Linked DNA regions of Homo sapiens: regions 1 and 3 are each linked to region 2. The links are contacts of gene promoters, found by promoter capture Hi-C in blood cells and fetal thymus (Javierre and others, 2016). All regions are on one chromosome and are shown on one strand. Each heading gives the region's core, a stretch centred on a gene start or on the middle of the fragment in contact. The rest is flanking DNA. Distances are from core to core; before and after follow the strand shown.

Region 1 (3,380 bases), core at 797-3,296, 240 kb before region 2:
CACTGCAACCTCCACCTCCCGGGTTCAAGCAATTCTCCTGCCTCAACCTCCTGAGTAGCTGGGATTACAGGCACACGCTGCCACACCCGGCTAATTTTTTGTATTTTAGTAGAGACGGGGTTTCACCATGTTGCCCAGGCTGGTCTCAAACTCCTGAGCTCAGGCAATCCGCCTGCCTTGGCCTCCCAAAGTACTAGGATTACAGGCATGAGCCACTGTGCCTGACCTTTTTTTTTTTTTTTTTTTTTTAAGAGATGGGATCTTACTCTGTTGCCCAGGCTGGAGTGCAGTGGCACAATCCTGGCTCACTACAGACCCAAACATCTGGGCTTGAGGGATCCTCCCACCTCAGACTCCTGAGCAGCTGGGACTGCAGGCGTGCACCATCACGCCCAGCTAATTTTAAAATTTTTTGTAGAGATAGGGTTTTGCTATGTTGCTCAGGCAACTCTCCCGGCCTGAAGCCATGCTCCTTCCTCTGCCCCTGAGTTGTTGAGATTATAGGCGCAAGCCACCTCACCTGGCTGCATTCTTGATCCAGCGAGTGACATGAGTGAAGTAGTGATTTAGGACAGTCTCCTATCCACTGGGTCCAAGCAAGTGTAAGTTCAGAGACAGCAATAGACAAAAGAATAGAAATCACAGATAGGAAGAAAGCTTATACTTTAAATGATGGGATCACTAAAGGCCAGCTCTTCTCTTCTACCCCTGTCTTGCATTTCTCTTCCCCCACCTTCCCACCTATTCCTCCCTCACAGTCTATAAAGACTTCCTAGAGAAGATATCCTCCAGGAACCTTGAAAGGAAGGGCCACATTATGACTCCTGAGCCCTGGGCACTTCTGTCTTTGTGGGCTCCTCCTTCACTTAAAAAAATATTAAAAATCATATTTTACAACTGCATCAGTGTAAGGAAGAATATAATATAATATAATTAATATTTATAATTAGTAATTGAATGGCATAACAACCTTAATATTTCTTTGACCTAAAATTTTGTTTCTTTTCCTTCTTCTAATTATAAAAGAAATGAAAATTATTTAAAACATTTTCATGGGCCTTTCGAAGCATTGTGGGCCCAGGGCACTGTGCCTGTTGTGCCTAGTGCATAAGTCAGCCCTATTCGAAGTAGGGCAGAGTGGAACTGTGCCTTGTGGGCTTTGCCCACCGTGCCAGGTAAAGCTCATCTCTTGCCACCAAATGATCACACCAGCTACCGCCTAGGTTGTCCTCACCCTGTATTAGACACTTAGCATTTTTCTTTATTTTATTTTAAAAATAATTTTTTGTAGAAATAAGGTCTTACTGTGTTGCCCAGTCTGGTCTCAAACTCCTGGCCTCAGGTGATCCTCCCATCTCAGCCTCCCAAAGCAGCATTTTTCATTGCACTTATTCCTCACCACAACCCAATGAAACAAGTTTTAGTCTCATTTTACGGAAGGAAAAACTGAAGTTCAGGGGAGTTAAGGAATTTTCTTTTCTTTTTTTTTTTTTGAGATGGAATTTCCCACTTGTCACCCAGGCTGGAGTGTAGTGGTGCAATCTCGGCTAACTGCAACCTCTGCCTCCCGGGTTCAAGCAATTTTCCTGCCTCAGCCTCCCGAGTAGCTGGGACTATAGGCGCCCACCACTATGCCCAGCTAATTTTTGTATTTTTAGTAGAGACAGGGTTTCACCATGTTGGCCAGACTGGTCTCGAACTTCTGATCTCAAGTGATTCACTCACCCCGACCTCCCAAAGTGCCGGGATTACAGGCATGAGTCACCGTTAAATTTTCAAAGATTAAAAAAATTTCCCAAGGTCACACAGCTAGTAATGGCAGAGGCAGGATTTTGCGCCAAGTCTGATTTACTGCAAGCCTGTGTTCTTTCTGTCATGGTGTACTGCTCCCAAGGTCTCACTCCACCCAACTGGCTGGTGCACATGAAAGAGAAGGCAGAAGAAAGGGGGCCGAGTCCCAGGGTGGCTTCCCATGGAAAGAACTCGGGGAGCCGCCCTCTGCTGGGCAGGTCTAGAGCAAATAAGTAGGCTGGCAGACTTAGGTGGCAAAAGATCTGATGCCTCAGTGATAAGAGATTTAGCTCAAGCTGGGAACAAGGACCACAAAGAAGCCAGCCAGTATCTGGGTTAACAAAAAAAAGAGTAAGTGAACAGAATAGATCTTGAAGGTCATTTGCTATTGGTTAGGACTTGGGTGGGGCCTTCAATCTTATGAACCTGAGCAGGGAAGGTTTGGAAAGACTGTAGTGCTATTTAATAATTATTCCTTTGTTTGGACAAAAAAATGGGGTAGAAACGGGAGAGAATGGGGGAAAAGCTATAAGCCATTTCCTCCTTTTATGCCAGCTTTCCTGAACTTAGTTTATTTTGTTGTTGTTTGTCCTTTTTTTCTTTTTTTGAGACAGGGCCTCAGTTTCACCCAGGCTGTAGAGCAGTGGCTCAATCACAGCTCACTGCAGCCTCAACCTTCCCAGACTCAGGTGATCCTCCCACCTCAGCCTCCCAAGTAGCTGGGATCACAGGTGCGTGCCACCATGCCCAGTTAATTTTTGTATTTTTTGTAGAGACAGGGTTTTGCCATGTTGCCCAGGTTGGTCTTGAACTCCTGGACTCAAGTGATCCTCTGGCCTCAGCCTCCCAAATTGCTGGGATTATAGGTGTAAGCCACCTTGCCAAGCATGTTCTTTTATTTGAAAGGTAATACATGCCCCTCAGAGAACAGCTTTCTAGACCTTTTCTATGTACAAACATATATATGCATATTTATAGGGTTTTTTAAAGTTACTTAAAAAAAAATACACAGAGAGACAGGGGTCTCGCTATGTTGCCCAGGCTGGACTCAAACTTCTGGCCTCAAGCAATCCTCCCACCTCAGCCTCCAAAAGTGCTGGGATTATGGGTGTAAGCCACTGCACTCTGCCAATTTACTTTTTTTTTTTTTTTTAAACAAAGATGCAGTCCTACTACATATACCACCTGGCAGTTTGCTTTTTTCATCTAACCATGTATCCTGTCCCAGTAATATTGTAGATCTCATATTCGTTTTAGCAACTGTTTCCACAATGGATGGCCTGTAATTTATTTCATCATTCCTCTCCAGATAGACATTCTAAGTATGTCTGGATTTTTTATTTTAAAATTTGATTTTAATGAGAATTCTAATAGAACACTTTCCATTTATAAAAATTCAAAAATTAAGGCTGAGAGGGGTTCTGATGCTCAGCTAGTTCAACTAACCATTCTGTCCTAGAATTCTCTCTCCAAGATGCTACGTAGCTTTTGTCCAGTTTTGCTCTTCCTTCTGTTGGGGAGACATCTGTCTTTCCCAGTTTCTGCTGTTAGTTCTCTTGTACAGGTCATGCCTTGGCATATTAGAAGAC
Region 2 (3,734 bases), core at 1,200-3,699:
GATCACTGATTGACCAGGCTGAAGCCAGAGGGTCCTTTAGATCCCGAGGGATAATAGAGCAGGCAGCATTTCCACCCACGTTCTGAGACTCCTCATAATTGCCTCAGTGCTGCACGTACCTATATGGAAAATACAAGTGCACTGTCAGGCTTGGGGTTAATGGTTTCACCTCACGTCTCAGAGGAGCAGAGTCCTAGTGCACCTGTGGAGCCTGAACCAGCTGCACTCCAAGAGGAGCAGAGAAGGGAAGCAATTTCTTACTCCACCCCTTTCAACCACTGGCACTCACAGGCTTGCCACCTACTCTTGCTCCTGCCAAATGGTACAGAGATGAAATCTTAGAATAAAATTTTTGAACTCAATAAATTGTTAATTAATATCTAGGAGTGGCAGATATATAATGCTTCTCTTTTCACGACAGGTCAAAGATGAAATCTGATTAGGCTTTGGAGGGCGTGGTTTGCCTCTTGAAATTCCTTGCTCGTCTTTAGAAAGCTGTGTTGCTTAGAGCACCCAAAAGTGCCCTTTATCTAACTGAGGGAGGCGCACTTGTCTTCATATATAGAGGCAGGAGCTGGCATTGGGAAAGTCAAACTAGTTCTGCACCATGAGGAAGAAGCAGCTGAAGACGGAGGCAGCTCCACACTGTGAACTAAGTAAGTAGCCCAGGGAAGCTGCCCAGCTGAGCAGACCTGAAAGGGTGACAAGTACAGCTCTAGCAATTTTATTTTCTAGTTATAATAGAAGTTGCCAAAGGAAAGGTTCCGATCTGGAGGAACTTCATCAAACCTTTCTGAAACTCCACAGATGTACTGTAGCGAGAATCTCAGAACTAATTTGTGCATTTTCTTTTTTCTCCAGGAGAAATTCTGTATGAAAACCAACCTGCTCCAGGAAGCCAAGCCCCCCCCCCCCACTTTTTTTTGGTCCCCGAGTTTGTTTTTACTTCGCACTTTATTTGGATTTTTCTCTTTGCAGTTCACGCTCCTTTCCTCATTTCTTGGTCTCTCTTACTAATGAAATTTTCTCCTAGCTGTTTTTACGTGAATAAAGAAGCTCAATTACCTTTAATGCTGTAAGCAGTGCGAGGGGTCGGGGAGTGAGGGTGGCGGGAGGATCTAATGTTTTTGGTGGCTGTAAACGACATTGCAGAAAATTACGGTAATTTGTTAGGCCATTTATTCCCTCTTCACCAGTTTGGCAGTCTCATCTTCAGAGCAAAAGATACGGTGTGAGGCTGAAACTGGCGATAGAGTGGGATTGCTTTTGGGTAGGTAGGATGAAGTCTGGGGAGAATCGAGTCAGCTGGGCGAGGAGGAAAACAATTCACTACGGAGGCTTGGGAGGACACCTAAGGCGGTCAAACTGGCTGCACTAGCTGATGTTTCTCGGTTCCTCCCAGGTGTGGGGTGCTCTTGGTGGGGCAGCAGATACTATGATGTGGCTCTGGGGGCGCGAGGAAATGTTCCTTCCAGGTGGCTATCCTTTTTTTTTGAGACAGGGTTTTGCTCTGCCACCCAGGCTGGAGTGCAGTGGCACGATCTTGTCTCACCGCAGCCTCCACCTCCCAGGCCCAAGTGATTCTCCCACCTCAGCCCCCGAGTAGCTGGGACCACAGGCGGGCGCCGTGATGCCTGGCTAATTTTTTTTTTTTTTTAGACGGAGTTTTCGCTCTTGTTTCCAAGGCTGGAGTGCAATGGCGCGATCTCGGCTCACTGCACCTCCGCCTCCCGGGTTCAAGCGATTCTCTTGCCTCAGCCTCCCGAGTAGCTGGGATTACAGGCATGCGCCACCACGCCCGGCTAATTTTGTATTTTTAGTAAAGACGGGGTTTCTCCATGTTGGTCAGGCTGGTCTCAAACTCCCGATCTCAGGTGATTCGCCCGCCTGGGCCCTCCAAAGTGCTGGGAGTACAGGCGTGAGCCACCGCGCCCGGCCTTTGCTTGGCTAATTTTAAAATTTTTTGTAGAGACCGGGTCTCACTATGTTGCCCAGGCTGGTATCGAACTCCTGGACTCAAGTGATCCTCCCGCCTCGGTCTCCCAAAGTGCTGGGCATTACAAGTGTGAGCCTCCGCGCCTGGCCTGGCTACCCTTTACAGGATAGAGCTATACCTCGTAGCTTGATTGTCAGTACCTAACGTGGCGCCACGGCGAACTAGGGCAGGAATCTTATCTGTCCCCAGACTGCTAGCGGACTGGAGCTCCCCAGTCCAGGGGCTGTGTGGGTCTGGCCAACGCAAGCAGCAACTAGGCAGCATGCAGCTCCCGCCGGGTGCCCCAGGGGCCGCCGCGTGCCCCAGGGGCCGCCGCATCCAGACTCCGCGTGGGCGGAGCCTAGGTCCCTGGTCTGCGGGCCACGCATCCCGGCCGCTGCAGGGACTCCAGCCAATAGGGATGTGCGGCTGCCGTCCTGTCGACCAATCGCGGGGAGGGGAGGGCGTTAGCCAGCGTGGCGCTGGCTCCCGGAATATGGAGCCCTGGGCGCGGGGGCGGCGTGTCAGGTGGTTGCGGAGCTGGTAAGGTGAGGGGAAGGCAAGGTCAGGGGTCACGGCATTCCGCTCGCTGGCAGGGAGGGGCGCGGGGCGGCTCGAGGGCCTGTGTCGGGGGTCAGGCTCCGGGGCTAGGATGCGACACCGGCTCGCCGTGCGGGGCTGTGAGGGGAGGTGTGGCCAGGGAGGGCCTCAGGCCCAGAGTCCAGGACTGATGGAGTCGCGCCATTCAGAGAAAGACCCAAAGATGGGGGCAGGGAGGGAACGCCGGAGGTCGCGGGGGTCTCGCCCCTTCCCCGCCGCGGCCTAGGACACATGGCCCAGCTCCCAGCTGCACCGGATGGCGCGCCCGGCCTGTGTCGGGGTGCGCTGACCTGCTTCGACGCCTCGAAAGAGGCCGACGGGCACAGGGCAAGGTCTTTCGTGGCCTCTTCGTCGGCGCCGCAGGGGGCCGGGCTGCTCTCCGGGGCCTCCCGCCGCCCCGCTTCAACAAAAGACTCATTATAACCTAACCGACTTCAGGGAGCGCCTTCTGTGTGAATAGCCTGCATACGCGGCTCAGTAATTGTGGGTAGATTGGTTTTAAGGCTGTTTGTGTAGCTCTCAGGGACCCTCTGGATTCCAGGCTCCAATGAGCAGGGTTTTTCTACAGGGGGATATTGCACATATGTAAGTGGGCTGGATGGCTCTCCCAGCTGTGCGTTTCATGTGTCCCCACTTTTAAAGCTACCGCTTAAATGTGACATCTCTTGCAAAAGCAAAAATTATATGGAAGGAGAGTTTGCAAGGGGAGATAGGCTTCTAAAAACTTGCTGGCCTCAATTTTAGTGACTGTTGGTGAAAAATGGAGAAGCTATGTTTACACTGACTTCTGGAACCCGAAGCCCCACCAGTTCGCATGATTTCTTGGCTTTGTAAATCTTTGAGCATGTTGTTTGCCTCTTTCTTCTTTTGTTCCACGTACTTAAAATGGGGATTGATAATATCAGTCTTACAGGGTTGTTGGTATGAAATTAGTTAATAAACAACAAAGTACTTAGAACTCTTGATGTGGAGGAGTTTTTGTTGTTGTTACCTTCTTTCCCCTTAACACTTCTAAAGAATTCTAACCTTATTACTTATTCTTTGCTCAGAGTCTCATGACTTATCACCAGTGAACCCGCCGGCCTATACTTTCCATTGACATCATTAACTTTGATCTGAGGGTATAGTGTAGTTATATGTGACTAGAGGATTTCTGCTG
Region 3 (3,717 bases), core at 893-3,392, 240 kb after region 2:
TGATTTACTATCTAGAAATGTATTTATTCCACTTCACCGTAAATATGCTTCTGAGGAAATTTGAAGAGTCACATCTAACTAAAATAACTGAAATATAGATATAAGTAAGCCAACTGAATTAGAACATTTCTGTAAAGTGCTCTATTAACAGAAAAATAATCAAAGAAAGACTCCACCTTATTTTTCTAGCACCATCTGGAGAAGACACTGCTATTCTTCACAGATATAGCCAAATAAGGCAGAAGGATATATCAAGCTTAAAGGACTAACCCCTTTGGGTCACTGGTTTTCAAACCTTTTGGTCACAAATCCTTTTGACATTCTCAAACTTATTGAGGACCCCCCAAAATTATTATTTCAGTTATATTTATTAATACTTACCATATTTAAAATTAAATTTAAAAAATTAGCAGTTCATTTCAAAATACAATAACAATCCATTACACGTTACCATACCTATTTCCATTAATACATTTTCAAAAAAAATTAGTGAGAGAAATGGCATTGTTTTACATTTCTGCAAATTTCCTTAATATCTGGCTTAATAGAAAACAGCTGAAATCAGCCGGGTGCAGTGGCTCATGCCTGTAATCCCAGCACTTTGGGAGGCCAAGGTGGGTGGATCACTTGACGTCAGGAGTTCAAGACCAGCCTGGTCAATATGGTGAAACCCCACCTCTACTAAAAATACACAAATTAGCTGGTCGTGGCAGTGGGCACCTGTATTCCCAGCTACTCGGGAGGGTGAGGCAGGAGAATCACTTGAACCCAAGAGGCAGAGGTTGCAGTGAGCCAAGATCGCACCACTGCACTCCAGTCTGGGCGACAGAGCAAGACTCCGTCTCAAAAAAAAAAAAAAAAAAAAGGCTGGCCACAGTGGCTCACACCTATAATCCCAGCACTTTGGGATGCTGAGGATCACTTGAGCCCAGGAGTTTGACACCAGCCTGGGCAACATAGTGAGACTCTGTCTCTACTAAAAAAAAAAAAAAAAAAAAGGCCGGGTGTGGTGGCTCAGGCCTGTAATCCTAGCACTTTGGAAGGCTGAGGCGGGTGGATCACGAGGTCAGGAGATCAAGACCATCCTGGCTAACACGATGAAACCCTGTCTCTAGTAAAAATACAAAAAATTAGCCGGGCGTGGTGGCGGGCGCCTGTAGTCCCAGCTACTCGGGAGGCTGAGGCAGGAGAATGGCGTGAACCTGGAAGGCGGAGGTTGCAGTGAGCCGAGATCGCGCCACTGCACTCCAGCCTGGGCGACAGAGCGAGACACTGTCTCAAAAAACAAACAAACAAATAAACAAACAAACAAAAAAAACAGAAAAAGAAAACAGCTGAAATCTCTTATCTGATTCTACATTAATTATGTTATCATACATTGTTTTGGTTGAATTATATGAAGAAAATCTGCCCTCACATAGATATGCAATTAGAAAAGATGTGTAGTGTTTTAAAAGCCTTTTCATTTCATTGTATTCTTTGATACAGCAGCAAAACTCAGCAAGTTATAGTTTCTTAAAGGTTATTTGCCATGTACAGTCTGAACTTTGTGTATTGTTAACATTAAAATCCGTTAGTCTCATCTTGCACTTTAAATGGCTCTTACACTCATGCATGATTTTTTTTTTTTTTTTTTTGGAGATAGGGTCTCACTCTGTCACCCAGGCTGGAGTGCAGTGGCATGATTATAGCTCACTGCTGCCTTGAACTCCTGGGCTCAAACAATCCTCCTGCTTCAGCCAAGTAGCTGTTACTACAGGTGTTGTAGTGCCACCACACCCAGCTAATTTTTAAAATTTTTTGGCCGGGCACGGTGGCTCACGCCTGTAATCCCAGCATTTTGGGAGGCTGAGGTGGGTGGATCACCTGAGGTCAGGAGTTTGAGACCAGTCTGGCCAACAGGTGAAACCCCGTCTCTACCAAAAATACAAAAAATTAGCTGGGTGTGGTGGTGGGCGCCTGTAATCCCAGCTACTCGGGAGGCTGAAGCAGGAGAATCGTTTGAACCCGGGAGGCGGAGGTTGTAGTGACCCGAGATCGTACCACTGCACTCCAGCCTGAGCGACAGAGCGAAACCCTGCCTTGAAAAACAAAAACAAAAACAAAGAAAACAACTCTAAATACAGTTAGGCCTCTTTATTCATGGGTTCTGCATCCATGAGTTTCACATCTGTGGATTCAACCAACCACAGATTGAAAATATTCAGGAAAAAAAATTTCTCTATACTGAACATGTACCGACTGTTTTTCTTGTCATATAGTATAACTATTCACATAGCATTTACATAGTATTAGGTATTAAAAGTAATCTAGAAATGATTTAAAGTATACAGGAAAATATGTAGGTTATATATAAATACCATGCCGTTTTCTATCAGGGGCTTTAAGCATCACAGATCTTGGTATCTGTGGACGTCCTGGAACCAGTCTCCCACAGATACTGAGAGATGACTATATACTTCGTTTAAAAGAAAATAAAACTAAATGATCTTGACAAGATATTTAAAGTCCACCTTCTTTTCTTATATTTTAACATTTTATACAGTCTTTTTTGCTTGTTTTTCTATTTTATTTTTTATTTATTTATTTTTATGATATGGAGTCTCGTTCTATTGCCCAGGCTGGAGTGCAGTGGCATAGTCTGTGCTCACTGCAACCTCCACCTCCCAGGCTCAAGCGATTCTCCTGCCTCAGCCTCCCGAGCAGCTGGGATTACAGGCAACCGCCACTGCACCTGGCTAATTTTTGATTTTTATTAGAGACAGGGTTTCGCCATGTTGGTCAGGCTAGTCTTGAACTCTTGACCTCGTGATCCGCCCGCCCTGACTTCCCAAAGTGCTAGGATTACAGGCGTGAGCCACTGCGCCTGGCCTTTGCTTGTTTTGTTTTTTTTTTTTTTTAACATTAATGCCAGGTCTGGTGGCTCACACCTGTAATCCCAGCATTTTGGGAGGCCAAGGTGGGTGGGTTACCTGCGGTCAGGAGTTCGAGACCAGCCTGGCCAACATGGTAAAACCCCATCTCTACTAAAAATACAAAAAATAGCCAGGCGTGGTGGCAGATGCCTGTAGTCCCAGCTACTTGGGAGGCTGCGGTAGGAGAATTGTTTGAACCCAGGAGGTGGAGGTTGCAGTGAGCCGAGATCATGCCACTGCACTCCAGCCTGGGCAACTAGAGCAAAAATCTGCCTCGAAAAAAAAAACCCAAAAAACAAAAACCAAAATAAAACACATTAATAATCAGTCTGAAACGAGATTAATCTGCATATAAAATATTCCTAACAAGCTCAGTATTTTGGCCAGTCCCTCCCTTACCTGTTGAGCAATATGAGAAATGTGAGCTCCCTGAACTGCTGAACCAGGTTGAGGTGCTGTCTCTGACGTGGTACTCTTGTGGGAATCTTCCATAATCAACTATAAGGGGGAAAAAAGTCCGTTAAAATTAAATATGATACAGAATGTTTACAGTATACTATAGAATCATATAAAAATTGATCATTTAGTTGCCTCAATGGAAAAGAACTGGTAGCAATGGTATAGAGATAGAAAGGGGACTGTGCATTTTCTTTAAATTTTTTGAATTTTGGCCCACAAAAACATGTTTAAGTTTAATAAAAGGCACATATAAACATAAATTATGATGACTAAGTTTGCAAACGTTATCCCATTGAAGAATGATGACAGTCCTCCTGTCTATGGACACAAACATATCTGTCTC

The links. The method cuts DNA at HindIII sites, captures the fragments that hold promoters and counts their contacts. A CHiCAGO score of 5 or more calls a contact.
Region 1: a contact is called between a fragment that was not itself captured here and the fragment with the promoter of SLC11A2 in region 2, in 1 of 17 cell types (megakaryocytes). The highest score is 5.6, in megakaryocytes.
Region 3: a fragment that was not itself captured here is called in contact with the fragment with the promoter of SLC11A2 in region 2 in 3 of 17 cell types (megakaryocytes, M1 macrophages and erythroblasts); the score reaches 7.6 in megakaryocytes.

The regions. Positions count from the first base shown.
Region 1 is chr12:51,261,497-51,264,876 of GRCh38, reverse strand. All of the region lies in intron 2 of SMAGP (small cell adhesion glycoprotein), which reads left to right. Among named protein-coding and RNA genes, the nearest start is that of SMAGP, 7.2 kb to the left of the region's middle. The HindIII fragment of the contact is 2,774 bases long and covers 660-3,380 here.
Region 2 is chr12:51,025,099-51,028,832 of GRCh38, reverse strand. It overlaps SLC11A2 (solute carrier family 11 member 2), which reads left to right and starts at 2,449. Exons shown (of 16, transcript NM_000617.3): 1 at 2,449-2,523. RefSeq lists silencers at 2,069-2,788, 2,799-2,858 and enhancers at 2,264-2,875, 2,876-3,489. The HindIII fragment of the contact is 11,669 bases long and covers 1-3,734 here.
Region 3 is chr12:50,779,836-50,783,552 of GRCh38, reverse strand. ATF1 (activating transcription factor 1) reads right to left here. Exons shown (of 7, transcript NM_005171.5): 2 at 3,315-3,413. The coding sequence starts at 3,407. Among named protein-coding and RNA genes, the nearest start is that of ATF1, 18 kb to the right of the region's middle. The HindIII fragment of the contact is 3,767 bases long and covers 259-3,717 here.